5 separate regions of the Homo sapiens genome follow, and all the other regions are linked to region 3. The links are contacts of gene promoters, found by promoter capture Hi-C in blood cells and fetal thymus (Javierre and others, 2016). All regions are on one chromosome and are shown on one strand. The core of a region is centred on a gene start or on the middle of the fragment in contact, and the rest is flanking DNA. Distances in the headings are between cores, read along the strand shown.

Evidence for each region. The method cuts DNA at HindIII sites, captures the fragments that hold promoters and counts their contacts. A CHiCAGO score of 5 or more calls a contact.
Region 1: a contact is called between a fragment that was not itself captured here and the fragment with the promoter of SPAG6 in region 3, in 4 of 17 cell types (total B cells, naive B cells, total CD4 T cells and 1 more). The highest score is 17.4, in total B cells.
Region 2: a contact is called between the fragment with the promoter of MSRB2 here and the fragment with the promoter of SPAG6 in region 3, in 1 of 17 cell types (neutrophils). The highest score is 5.8, in neutrophils.
Region 4: a fragment that was not itself captured here is called in contact with the fragment with the promoter of SPAG6 in region 3 in 3 of 17 cell types (fetal thymus, erythroblasts and total B cells); the score reaches 8.3 in fetal thymus.
Region 5: a contact is called between a fragment that was not itself captured here and the fragment with the promoter of SPAG6 in region 3, in 1 of 17 cell types (fetal thymus). The highest score is 6.9, in fetal thymus.

Annotation. Positions count from the first base shown.
Region 1 is chr10:21,538,672-21,541,371 of GRCh38, forward strand. It overlaps MLLT10 (MLLT10 histone lysine methyltransferase DOT1L cofactor), which reads left to right. Exons shown (of 23, transcript NM_001195626.3): 3 at 162-241. Among named protein-coding and RNA genes, the nearest start is that of MLLT10, 5.8 kb to the left of the region's middle. The HindIII fragment of the contact is 1,652 bases long and covers 510-2,161 here.
Region 2 is chr10:23,094,301-23,097,000 of GRCh38, forward strand. It overlaps MSRB2 (methionine sulfoxide reductase B2), which reads left to right and starts at 1,279. Exons shown (of 5, transcript NM_012228.4): 1 at 1,279-1,426. The coding sequence starts at 1,309. LOC107984215 (a long non-coding RNA gene) reads right to left here and starts at 979. Exons shown (of 3, transcript XR_001747394.2): 1 at 520-979. RefSeq lists a silencer at 1,087-1,556. The HindIII fragment of the contact is 9,169 bases long and covers 1-2,700 here.
Region 3 is chr10:22,344,200-22,346,899 of GRCh38, forward strand. SPAG6 (sperm associated antigen 6) reads left to right here and starts at 1,297. Exons shown (of 11, transcript NM_012443.4): 1 at 1,297-1,437; 2 at 1,524-1,619. The coding sequence starts at 1,413. RefSeq lists enhancers at 1,146-1,365, 1,326-2,142. The HindIII fragment of the contact is 2,343 bases long and covers 1-1,787 here.
Region 4 is chr10:22,975,251-22,977,950 of GRCh38, forward strand. The region is part of intron 8 of ARMC3 (armadillo repeat containing 3); the gene reads left to right. Among named protein-coding and RNA genes, the nearest start is that of ARMC3, 49 kb to the left of the region's middle. The HindIII fragment of the contact is 2,173 bases long and covers 334-2,506 here.
Region 5 is chr10:22,993,293-22,995,992 of GRCh38, forward strand. All of the region lies in intron 10 of ARMC3 (armadillo repeat containing 3), which reads left to right. It overlaps LOC107984215 (a long non-coding RNA gene), which reads right to left. Exons shown (of 3, transcript XR_001747394.2): 3 at 2,132-2,526. Among named protein-coding and RNA genes, the nearest start is that of ARMC3, 67 kb to the left of the region's middle. The HindIII fragment of the contact is 551 bases long and covers 1,005-1,555 here.

The sequences.
Region 1 (2,700 bases), core at 86-2,585, 810 kb before region 3:
AGCTGTATATGTGATAAATAGGATGTGAACTGTTTTACTTCTCTGTAAAGAGGTAGTTTACTTGAATAGTGACAGGTGGATTAATAGGGCTTTGAAAGGGTATTTGATTTTTCCATAGTTCTTCGAATCTTAACATTTTAACACATTTCATTTTTCAACAGCTTGCTATGGCATTGTTCAAGTACCCACTGGACCGTGGTTTTGCAGGAAATGTGAATCTCAGGAGAGAGCAGCCAGAGTGGTAAGGACTATTTATCAAAAACATTAAACTTTAGTGAGTAGGTTAGGAAATTAGGAACTGCACTCCTGTTGTGGTTTGTGGGGTTGTCAGTCATTTCTTCAAATATCATAATGTAAGAGATAATTTAGGCCAAATATTGACTTGGAGTATTAAACAGATTTTGTAAAACTGAAAAACAAATGGAATCAAGTGAGTATATTTTGGATACTTTGAAAACAAAAATACATAGTCATATTTGGGCTTTGTTAACTAGTTACAGAATCAAGAAAGCTTGAAGAAGTTTGAAGGTTACACTGGCTAATCATAGTTAAAATATAATGGAAATAGAAACATAAGGAAGTTACATTGATAATTCTCTTAGGTTTTGTGTAATGGGAAAAAAACCCAATAATTTTAGTGACTATCATATTCCTTTTACTACATCTTTGGGTGTATAGTTTAACTTCGAACACTCACTGATTTCAGGCATTCAGTCCCTTTGGCAAACCAACATAAAAATCTTTTTTTTTTTTTTTTTTTTAACTTGGGTGGTTACCTTATTTCAGAACTTTTCTAAACCTCTTATAAGAATGAAGGAGGTGCCGGGTGCAGTGGTTCACACCTGTAATCCCAGCACTTTGGGAGGCCGAGGCGGGAGTATCTCGAGGTCAAAAGATGGAGACCACCCTGGCCAACATGGTGAAACCCCGTCTCTACTACAAATACAAAAATTAGCTGGGTGTGGCAAGCACCTGTAGTCCCAGCTACTTAGGAGGCTGAAGCAGGAGAATTACTTGAACCCGGGAGGTAGAGGTTGCAGTGAGCTGAGATGGTGCCATTGCACTCCAGCTTGGGCAATAAGAGTGAAACTCTGTCTCAAAAAAAAGAAAAACAAATTACAAACATTAGCTGGGCGTGGTGGCACGCCCTATAATCCCAGCTATTTGGGAGGCTGAGGCAGGAGAATGGCGTGAACCTGGGAGGCGGAGGTTGCAGTGAGCTGAGATCATGCCATTGCACTCCAACCTGGGTGACAGAGCAAGACTCTCAGGAAAGGAAAAAAAAAAACAAAAAGGAGGTAGGCCGGGTGCAGTGACTCACACCTGTAATCCCACCACTTTGGGAAGCCGAGGCAGGAGGATTGCTTGAGTCCAGGAGTTTGAAACCAGCCTGGTCAACTTAGTCTCTACAAAAGAAAAATTTTAAAAATTAGTTGGGGCTGGGCACAGTGGCTCATGCCTATAATTCCAGCACTTTGGTAGGCTGAGGTGGGCGGATCACTTGGGGTCAGGAGTTTGAGACCAGCCTGGCCGACATGGTGAAACCTATCTCTGCTAAAAATACAAAAAATTAACTGGATGTGGCAGCGCGTGCCTATAGTCTAGCTACTCTGGGGGCTAAGACGGGAGAATCGCTTGAATGAGGGAGCCAGAGGTTGCAGTGAGCCAAGATTGTGCCACTGCACTCCAGCCTGCACTCCAAACAGAGTGAGACTGTTTCAAAAAAAAAAAAAAATTAGTTGGGCGTGGTGGCTTGCACCTGTACTCCCAGCTACTCTGGAAGCTGAGACAGGAGGATTGCTTGAACCTGGGAGGTTGAGGCTGCAGTGAACCATGACTCCAGCCTGGGTGACAGAGTGAGAGACTGTCTCACAAAAAACACAGTGAGGGAGGTATGTTTATCCTTTGTATCCACAAGCATTTTTCCCATTTGGATTTCTGAAAATATCAGAAATAGATTTTATTTTCATTAGTTATGCAAACCTACCATTTAAAATATGATAGTTCCTTTTTAAAATCTTATTATATTTATTGATTTATTATTTATTCCAAGACATCTTGTTATAGCAAATTCCTTTCCCTTGGTGTTGATTATGGAATTAGACTGAAGGTAGAGAACAAACATTTTAGCTTCTTTACCTAGGCATATAGCAAAAGCAGAAGCTTTTGTGTTTGCCTGGGCAATTTTTGAGCGGTAGAAATAATGGGCTGGGTGCTGTGGCTCGTGCTTGTAATCCTTGCACTGTGGGAGGCCAAAGTGGGTGGATGACCTGAGGTCAGGAGTTTGAGACCAGCCTGAGCAACATGGCGAAACCCCACCTCTACTAAAAATACAAAAATTAGCTGGGTGTGGTGGTGTGCACCTGTAATGCCAGCCACTTGGGAGACTGAGGCAGGAGAATCGCTTGGACCTGGGAGGCAGAGGTTCCAGTGAGCTGAGGTTGCGCCACTGCACTCCAGCCTGGGCGACAGAGCGAGACTCGTCTCACAAAAAAAGAAAGAAATAATGGTTGAGTAACCTATAAAAATGTGTTGAGTCTCAGAACTATTTGTATTTTATTATTTTGAGACAGTCTTGCTCTGTTCCCCAGGCTGGAGTGGAGTGGCGCAATCATTGCTCACTGCAGCCTTGAAGTCCTGAGCTCAAGAGATCCTCCTGCCGCAGCTTCCTGAGTAGCTGGGACTTACAGGCCTGTAGCA
Region 2 (2,700 bases), core at 29-2,528, 750 kb after region 3:
GGATTAGGCAAAGATTTCTTAAATATGATACCAAAAAAAGAACAATCCATTAACAAATTGATAAATTGGGCTTCATCAAAATTAAAAACTGCTCTTCCCAAGACAATATTAGGAGACAGAAAAGACAAACAAGAGACTGGGAAAAAAAATCTTTGTAAAGCATATGTTTGATAAAAGATTTGCATCCAAAATATATAAAGTGTTCTAAGCTCAATAATGAAACAACTCAACATTAAATGGGCAAAAGATCTGAACGGACACTTCACCAAGGAAAATACACTCGCTGCAAATACGCACATGAAAAGATGCTTAACATCATTAACGATTAGAGAATGCATAATAAAGCCACAATGAGCTACCACTACACAGAACCGGAACATCTACAGTTAAAATCTCTGGACTTTCAAGTGTTGGCAAGGATGAAGAACAACTGGAACTCGCATAGACTGCTAGTGGGAAGGTAAAGAAAAAAACCACTTGGGAAAACAGTATAGTAGTTTCTTAAATGGTTACACCTACCTTACGACCTGGGCATTCCACTTCCAGGTATTTACCCCAGAGAGGAAAAACCGTATATGTCTGTACAAAGATTTGCACAGGGATGTTCCTAGCAGCTGTAGTTCTAATCAGGAAAAATTGAAAGCAGGCTAAATCAAGTGCTGACTAAACACACGGTGGTATATCCATAAATGGAATACTGCTCAGGAAGCAATGAATGATTGTTCCATGCAAAAACACGCAGGCATGTCAAAGTAACTATGTTGAGTGAAAGAAGCCAGACAAAATCAAGTACATATGGGATGATTCCATTTATGGACGACTCTAGAAAATGCAAACTAAAACAGATCAGTGTTTGGGCTGCGGATGAGTGGAGTTGGGATAGGTGGAGGGGGGCAGGGCGAGGGAGGAGCAGGAGTGGGAGGAGCTGGGAGATGCAGAGATGGGTTGGGGAGGGTCTCATGGAAGGGAAGGGAGAGAGGAAGGGGGAGAGGAAGGGGGAGGAAAGGCAAGGGGAAAAGGAGAGGAAGAGGGAGGGGGAGAGAGAGGCAGAGTGGGAGGAAAGAGGGGCGGGGACCTGGGAGGGCCCAGGGCACATAGTGGGAGGAGCAGGTGGGAAGGAGGGAAGGAGGGAGGGGCAGGGGAGGGAGAAGAGGGGGAGGGAGACGAGGGGACTGGCGGTGTGGGCGGAGCGTGGGGAGGGAGGCCGACTAGCGCAGGCGGACGGGAGAGAATGGGGGAGGGGTGGGATGGGAGCAGGGGCAGAGACGGGCAGAGGGCAGAGGGCGGAGCGGCGCCGGAGCGGGCGTCATGGCGCGGCTCCTCTGGTTGCTCCGGGGCCTGACCCTCGGAACTGCGCCTCGGCGGGCGGTGCGGGGCCAAGCGGGCGGCGGCGGGCCCGGCACCGGGCCGGGACTGGGGGAGGCAGGTAGGACGCGGGTCCCGCAGGCCCCGCCGCCGCCTACGGCTTTCGGCTTCATTTCACCGGCTGCACCCGGGAGCCTAGGGCCGGTCCAGGCCGGGCGCTGCCCTCCTACTAAGCCCTCCTCGGCGCGCCCCTCCCCCCCCCCAGCCCGAGGATCTGGGACAGTGGATTGTAAACTTGGTGGCGGCAGGGTGGGGACTGACCCCTGTGAGAATCCGAGGAAATGAACAAATGATCCCCCTAAATGTGCGCATAATTTTTTTTTTCTTGGCTCGGGGAGTGGGGGCATAAGTGGGGCTCGGGGGCCTCTGACCCCTATCGGGGACTCCAGGCGAAGGCCCGGGGCCTGGGCTGTAGCAGCCCGGCCCGCGCGCCCCTGCGAAGGCCCCTAGTATTTTGCATTGCAGCCCTCTTCGTAGTTCCGCGGGCTTCCTTCCAGCATCTGAGAAGCAGGCAGTTCAGACTTGGGGTTCCTGTGAGTGTTTCCTGCCCTGCTGACTTCCCATAAATGTGTCTAAGAGCCAGGGAGACTGGGTTGATCATTTGTTCCTTCTTTAAGGTGACAGCCATTGTTAATGACTGAGACAGAGACCAGGGCGAGCCTGTGTGTGTGTGTCTCTCTCTCTCTCTGTGTGTGTGTGTGTGTGTGTTTCTGCTAAATACTTTTGGATCCTCTCTTGGATCTGGGTACCTGCACATTTCACCAAGCAGGAAGGAGTCACCTCGGGAGACCTGTGCCAGCTACCCCTGTATTTCAGTTCTATTTCAGGGTAACTTAGTGCCCCAGGGGATTGGCTTCCTGGGCGGTTGCCAGACTGACCCACTCTGAATCCAATTTTATATGTGTTCATTGAAGACATTCAGAGATACCCAACTGATGAAAATGTACCAACTCATTCTGAGCTCTTTTTAGCCCCTGAAGTTTTCGAAATGCAATATTGAAAGAATACGTAACTAAATAAAAGCGTTGGCGTTGTGGAATGTTAGCTCATCCAACTTGACTTCCAGCTATGGCCTTTCTAATCACTGGTGTCTCTAGTCAGTCTGATGACATTTGCTGTGAGCCTACTGTGTGCCAAGCATTGTATTGCTGAGAACCACAGGTGATAGAAACAGGTCACAGTTACCGACGAGCTCTCTATAACCCCTTGAAAAAGGATGGTGGTTTTAGCGGTAACTACTTCATGGCTGTAATTGCTGCTGTCAGAAGCAGCCTAATGAATTGCCCTGGGATCTGAAGTTCTCCAGCAACAATAAAATTTGGCCAGCCACCAGTA
Region 3 (2,700 bases), core at 47-2,546:
AGCAGAAGACATGTACCTGCCCTTCGGGGGTATTAGGGACCCGACTAAACACACTTATTCTTCTCTCTGATTGCTGGACCATTCCCCAACTATTTGGAGCTCCACAAAGTATCAGGACTTCATCAAGAGCTCAGTGAAGGGTGAGATCTCAAAGATAAATATAGAGGACTCATTCCAAATATAGAACCAGTTAAGTTTGCATGCTCCCTTCTGTTGAAGAAATATCAAGGGGTTTCCTGTCTTGGCACTACTTAGCAGCAGCTGCGGCTATGTATCCACTTGACATCTGGTGAAATTGTAGTTTTTGATGGAGGAACATTTAAAGTTGACAACTGTCATTGAAACAACTGGTATATAGTTTTCAAAGACAAGCTAGAAACCAGTAATAGACTAAGTACTTCAATTTTGTTAAAAGAAACTGGGTAAAGGGTTCAAGTTATATAAGATAGGGAAGTCTGGTTTTCCAGGTAAAGGTTCTCTCTCTTTTTCTGTTGGAGATGTCATTCATCAACATAACGAAGCCTAAATTTAAAAGACTAAGACAAAATATTTACAAATCACATAAAAGTGAGGAAACAGCAAAATTAGTAGTCATTAGGAGAAAGCCAGGGAAGACAGGACATTCATCACATCCTTTCCTCATCTGCTTTCCTCACTGAGTCTCTGAGTGCTCATTAAATGCTTTCAATACAGTGTAATTAAGTGTGTGAACATGGTTGTCATGCTCCTCCAGGAATCTTGAAACCAGGAATGCCAGGTATATAACAGCGGGTTACAAAAGAAAACACGGATTCCTAAATCAGTGTTTTACTGTCAGTGCAGTGTTAAATGTCAATGCAACACTTAAGTTGCATTGACATTCATGTGTTGATCGGATTGTACAATGTGACGTGTGAGATTTCTCGGGACCGTCGAAGCTCAGACAACTCCAGGGCTGCAATTTACTCGTCTGGCTGCCCTCGAACCAGGCTCCCTTGGCGCGTGGGGCTCTCCCGGCGCTTGGTCCCGACCCGCGCCGCAGTCAGGATACCACGGCAATCTGGGGTCGCTTTGTAAGGAGCTCCGACCTCCGGGCAGTGCAGGGATACTCGACGGCGCGCGATGTCCCGGCGGCTCCGCGAGCCTGGCGCGCTGAGAGCCCCAGCAGTCCGAGTCCTCGAGCTCGGGCGTCTTCGCGCCGCCGCCCCGCTCAGTGCGCCCAGGCACCGCGGCCGTGACGTCACGCCCGGGACTGGCCGTTGCAGCAAGACGGCCGCGTTCCGGTTCCGGTAGGTTGCCCGGGAGACGCGGGTACACAGAGAAGCGGCTCCCGTCGGAGGCCGAGTCGTCGCCACGATCGCCCCCTTGGTGGACTCGCAGGCCGAGCGGCTTCCCCGCAGAGCTCGAGGAGGGCAGACGGCGGCGGGGGCGCCATGAGTCAGAGGCAGGTGCTGCAAGGTAGGGCCGAGGCGGGCAGGTGCCCTAACTAGCTGGCGCCGAGGAGACCCGGGTGCGGTGGGCTCCACCGACTCTCTCTCCCGCAGTGTTCGAGCAATACCAGAAGGCCAGGACCCAGTTCGTGCAGATGGTGGCGGAGCTGGCGACTAGACCCCAAAACATCGAGACGCTGCAGAACGCGGGTGAGCCCGGAGCCCGAACCCCCGTCGCCCCCCGCGCACTGAGTCCCCGACGCCTCCGCCCCGCTGCCCTGCCCGTGGAGCTCTTGGGGAGCCGCAGTGTGGGGACCGGAGTTCGCAAAAGCATCCATTCTTTTCAGCGGGTCTTTGGGGGTCAGGCCGAGAGGGTGAAGCTTCCAGATGGTTGTGGGAGGTGCGCGTTGTCCCTGTTTCCATCTTCATTGCACACAGGCAAGTGTCAGGTTGAAAGTCGAGGCCCTAGGAATTGCCTGGAGTCATTTTACGTGAATGGGACTCTACCCTAATGAGACCCATTTTATCCAAGTGCCATTTTGCATGCCACCCTGCCTTTGATCACCTTCGACTTCCTCACAGCAAAGCAATTCCAGTGGTTTAGACGTGATTTCTCGTCTTGCTTTAGTGAAAGGGGAATGATATGCTTGAATCTTTTCCAAGAAATTCCAAGTAGGTAGAGACCAGACTTTGCGAAATCCTTATGGCGCGTTCCTTCTACTCCTCAGTCCGGACTCTTGCAGATGTGAGAGGGGGAGAGAGGGGGAGAGGGAGGGAGAGAGATCTTCTTATCTCATAACATAAACTGATAAGAGAAAATGGTTCTTCTTCTTCTTCTTCTTCTTCTTCTTCTTCTTCTTCTTCTTCTTCTTCTTCTTCTTCTTCTTCTTTCTTCTTCTTCTTCCTCTTCTTCTTCTTCTTTTCTTCTTTCTTCTTTCTTCTTCTTTTTTTTTGGATGATTCTACCACCATCTGAACTGTAAGGTAGCATTTTATCACTACTGTGTCATGAGAAATCTTCAGTTTATAGGATGTGATCTTTAAAACTAACACATAATTTAAACAATTAACATGTTGACAGCAAGAATACTTAAGTGTAATGATTACTCTGGGTTTCTTTGAGGGGAATTACTACTGCACCTATGTGATACTTCGTTTTGTCACTAGGATTTTTGGCATTTATTCCTTGTGTGTTTTTATTGGGGGGCATGTATTTACAATAAAGTATATTTTATAATCTTCTAAACGCATTTTAGTTTGAAATAATTGTAGATTCACAACTGTAAGGGATA
Region 4 (2,700 bases), core at 170-2,669, 630 kb after region 3:
CCTTAAATATCTATGGAAGTGATGACAGGCACGGTGGCTCACGCCTGTACTCCCAGCGGTTTGGGAGGCCGAGGCGGGTGGATCACCTGAGGTCAGGAGTTCAAGGCCAGCCTGGCCAACATGGTGAAACCGTGAAACCCCATCTCTACTAAAAATACAAAAAAATTAGCCAGGTGTAGTGATACATGCTTGTAATCCCAGCTACTCGGGAGGCTGAGGTAGGACAATCACTTGAACCTAGGAGGTGGAGGTTGCAGTGAGCCAAGATCGCACCATCGCACTCCAGCCTGGGCAACAACAGAGAAAGTCCATCTCAAAAAAACAAAAATGAAAAGCTTATCTATGAAGATTGCTTTTGTATTGTTCAAGCCTGATTTGCATTATTTTGCATATATGATTTTTTTGCTGTATTAAGGTAGAATTTTTTATCCTGAGTTTGAAAATTTTGCCGAAATATGTCTAAGTCCCCCTCTCCACTGTCTCCACTACACAGGCAAGCCTTTTGATCTCCAGAGTCATGATTTTTTCCCCTAATTCAGGAAGCTAGTTTTTTCCACTATACTTTGGATTCTTGTTTTTGTTTCACTTAATCTTTTTTCCTCATGAATACTTATTTTTAGACCATCTCTGTTCTCCTTTCTATGCAGTGTTTCATAATTTTGGTTTTTAATGCTCATCATGGAATGCAGAGGACTCTACCTGGGCCTAGTTTTAATGAATAGATGAAGCCTACAGGGTGCCCTTTGCCTGTTTTCCCATCAATTGAAAGGGCAGTGGACTCCTTTAGCCCAATTGTGGATGAGGAGGAGACTTTCCCATAATGCAGTATTGCAACGCCAGAGTTCGATTCTCCTGATCCCACTGGTTTATATAAGAGGAAGGTGATATAAGTTCAGAGCTTTCTAAGAGGCCCTTCATTGTCTGTGGCCTGGGTGACTTGTGGAAATTTGTTTCTTCCTCTCTTCCCCTTGCCCCAGGGTCCTCTTTTTCTCCTTTTCTTATCAACCTCTTTGACAGATCAGTCCATTTTAAATAGCCACATCTCCTCAGCTCATCTCCATCATTTCACCTGCTGCACCTGACTTCTGTTTCTGCCATTCTGCCAAAATAGTCCTTGTACAATTTGACGTTGACCTCTCAACTCCGAAATCCTGCAGAGGCATTTTCAGTCCTTTTTAACGTGACCTCTGGGTGGGAATCCACACTGCTGATTGCCCTCTCCTCCTGTAAACTCTTTTATTCCATCGTTTTCAAAACACCCCTCTCTCCTGATTGTTCTTCAAATTACCAGACCAGCCTTCACCTTTACCACTTTCCTCAGCTTATTTCAACCTAAACTTGCCTTCTGTTTTATGTCTTGTTCTCTTGAAAATCTCCCTGAGCACTCTTACTTATGACTAATGTTTCAGCTGCCTCCTTATTTGCTTATGAATCCCAAATCTGTTTCTAATTCTGACCTGTCTTCTGAATTCCTGCCTGTATTTCTGACAGCTTCCAAGCACATCCAACTATACTGCCCACACTCCACTTTGGGGAGTGTTAAGTTTCTTTGACAATCTGAACAAAGAGTAACCTTCTGAAAATGCACAAATACACTACATTCTGCATATAATTGCAGGGAGTTCACGGACTGCCTGAAGCCCACCTGTCTTCTGAATAACTCTTGAGCTAGAATAAGCAGGATCAAATCCAGATAGCCCCACTTGGCATCAGAGATTCTTCTATTTTACACAAGCACATGGCCATTGGTTATCAATTTGTTCTTCCTCAGAAACTCTCCCTTGTGGTCTGGATTGTATAACTTTGTTCGACCATAATTTTATACTCATTTGCTCTGGTTTGGGCCTTTTGTCTGGATTCTGGTTTGGGAAATGCTGTTTTGATCTATTGGTATCCATGTTCTTCAAATGGCTAGATTTAGAGGAAATCTCAAATTTTCTAATTCTGTTAATTTTCAAGGTGTCAATAAAATAACTGGTTTCTCTTTCTGTCCTTAAGAAATTAAAAAACCTGCTTCCTCGTGCTGTAACCTAGTATAGCCCACTCTGCTCTACATCTGCTACCAGTTTTCTCACACCAGACCTTCACCTGTTCCCACTATGGTAGATTAAAGCAACAACCTGTGCATGAACTAAAGTAACCCGGCCCTCATTGGAATACCAAGCAAGCACAGCACAAAAGTTAACTTCCATTGCTGAGCAGAACCTCCATTTCCCAGATCTACCTTAACATCATTCAACCAACTGCCCATCTGTATTAAAGTCGGGCTCCTTCACCATGGTCTTGCAGGTTTCCTCTATTACTGTGCAAACTTCCATTTTATAATTCAACTTATTCAACTGGTAATCTTCCTCCATCCCTTCTGACATAGCCTCCTTCCTTCTTAAATTGTTTTCATCTTTGGCAACTCTACAAAAACTGAAAAAGTATGCCAGGTAGGTCTTCAAATTCAGTGAATGCAGAGGTGGTTTAATTTTCTTATAGCCTAGGAGATATCTGGTCTGAAAGCTTGATTCTTGGAACCTCTAGAAAGATAGATGATTCCACGAAGATTCAAACTTTCTCTCTGTTCACATATCCCAATAAATTATTATGAATGAATGCTCTTCTCATTGGAAGTGCAGAGCTTTGAGAAAATCTCTCCATTCCAGAAGCAGGATTTCCCCTAAGGACTCTGATCTGCCTTAGCCATGACATTTT
Region 5 (2,700 bases), core at 30-2,529, 650 kb after region 3:
GAGACATCCCTTGATAAAAGAGAAGAATATATTCCCAAGAAGTTGTCTAAAGTGTAAAATTTTATTTCTTGAATACCATCTAAAAATTACCTCACTGTATAATTGGAGAAGCATGAGGGCAGGGAGGAAATGAACCAATTTCAAGAGCAGCTGTAAGTGATAAAACTGGAAATCGCAGTGTTGCTGGATCCTATCCCTTCTTGCAAACTTAAAGCTGAGCTAAGCACTTTCCCCCTCCCTTCTTCTTGATACCTGCAGCGAATTTCTGCTCACTCACCTTGAGTTGATTCGAGTCAATTAAAATACATTGATCTTCTCAGCACCGGAAATATAAATAAGACTCAAATATTACCTCTAAGAGGTAAGTACCAGGTACAGACATAGCACAGCAGAGGGAGTGATTAACAAGGAGGGCCGTGATGGTCACAGATGACTTTGCAGAGGAAGGGACAGGTAAGCAGAGAGTGAAGAATGAGCTAGTGTTCTCCAGCCACAAGTGCCAGAGGGATAGGGAAGGGTGTTTGGGACAAAGGGACCACAAGTGCAAAGACACAGACATGAAATCGCACAATATTTTTAGTGAGCCATAGACGCTATTTGTGTTTGAATTTTTCCTCAGTGATGTTCTTAGCATCCTTTCTGTAAGTGCTCTTTTATTGTGGGGCTTGGGCATTTGAATGAAAAATCTGCTGAATTCCATTCATGAGTGCTGCAAAATAACATTTTTAAATTGTTACTTTTTTCTGATGTAAACATTTATGCCAGAACATCATATTTTTAAACAAAAAGAAATGTGTATATTTAGCACACAAATGCTCTGAGCTCATGTTAAAAAGAAATCTCCTTTGGGGATCCAGAAGTGCCTCCTTGAGGAAAAGACATTTGTGCTGAGCTGTGAAAGAGGGCTGGGCATTGTCCTGGGGGAAGAGGATGTCAGGAAATGGGAAGAGCGCAGGGGAGCCCTGATGTGGGAAAGAGCCTGGCATATTGAAGGCTGCAAGAGAAGCTTAGAGCACGGAGCAACAGGAAGAGGCGGCGAGGGGCTGGGGGTGCATGGGGCTGGCGTGAGAAGTGGGGGCCGCTTGTGTAAGGCCTTGGAGGCCATGTCAGAAATTTGGGGGTAGGCCAGGCATGGCGGCTCACTCCTGTAATTCCAGCACTTTGGGAGGCCGAGGTGGCAGGATTGCTTGAGGCCAGAAGTTTGGGACTAGCCTGGGCAACGTAGCAAGACTCCATCTCTAGAAAAATAATTTAAAAATATAACAAAAAAGAAAAAGAAAAAATTGGGAACTTTATCCTAAGCAATGGGAAACCGTGAAAGTTTTAAGTAGGGGAGCAATATGATTATAATTTTAAAACATCACTTTAGCTGTAAGACGGAGGAAGGACTGGAGGGGGTGAGGAGAGACCTCTTAGGAGATTATTTATATCAACCCACAAGAGAGGATGCTGAATTGGATTCTGTGGGAGGATGGAGAGAAGGGAGAGATTTGAGAAATATGGAGGAGGAAAATAGTCAGGACTTGCTAATAGATTGACGTCACATGACATGTCAAGCTTCACCTCTGTTTACATATATCAAATGATATAAACAGATGTTTTCATACATTCCCATATTTGTTTTTTAGTTTGTTTTTTTCCCAATTTACATTTTAAACTCTTACTTGATTAAACTCCAACTGGATGGAGACTAATGATAGTAAATATCAGAAAATATTTTCAAATTATTGTGATGACATATGGCCCTATAATTCTGGATTTTAAAACAAAGCAGTTTGACTTCCATCCCATTCATTTGGATAATGCTATACTATTTGGGAAACCAAAATAATGGCTTTAAAAATATGACAGGCTTCAGCTTGTGTACAGGGAAAAATACAACAGAATGTCTGAGGTTTGAAATAAACAGAATTAATTCAATTCTTTTTTGTTTTTTAAACAAACAATTTTGTTTCAAAAAAGAATTTTGTTCAATTCTTTTTTGTTTTTTAAAGTACAAGTTCTGGGCTCTACTTCTGTATATAAAATTAGTTTTTTTAAGGTAAGAATAATAGTTTAATTTACCACCATAATAAGTTAATCTCAATTATTCTTTTTAGACTTAGTGCTGCATATAGCAAATTACGGGCAAATATGTACATATAATGCAGGTTGTGCCAGCTGTGCCTGCACGACTCATCTTTCTGTGCTGGCATTTATGTTCAATTTAGTAAAAGCTATATTCCACTGTGTACTAGAATCTTTGGTTTTTTAAACACCTAGTTTTTTATGCATTTCCCTTTACTGTCTCCATCAAGAGCAAAGAAAAGAGCAGAAGGTAGAGATATAAATGAACCAAGTCAAAATATGCCTTTGTAGAGGAGAAAGAAAGAAACAAAATCAAAGCAGAAAGGCTGACTGTTCGGATATACCTGATGTAAATTCCTGTATTTCCATGATCCAATTTTTCTTCGTTTCTTAGTTTTCAAGATGAAAGAAAAAGATGATGTATGACCCTGCGAACTCCTTTAGTTTTCCAAAAACTCCCTGGTACACACAAAAGACAAAGTATTTGAGAATTTATTGTTTGCATTTACTTAAAATACTTCTGTTTCTATCCTGGATGCCATTGAAGTACCCTGCGATTGTATGCTCTTTCTTAACTCTACAGGATGTTTTAAAAAGTGAACATTCTCGAGGGAAAACCACCAAGTGACAAAG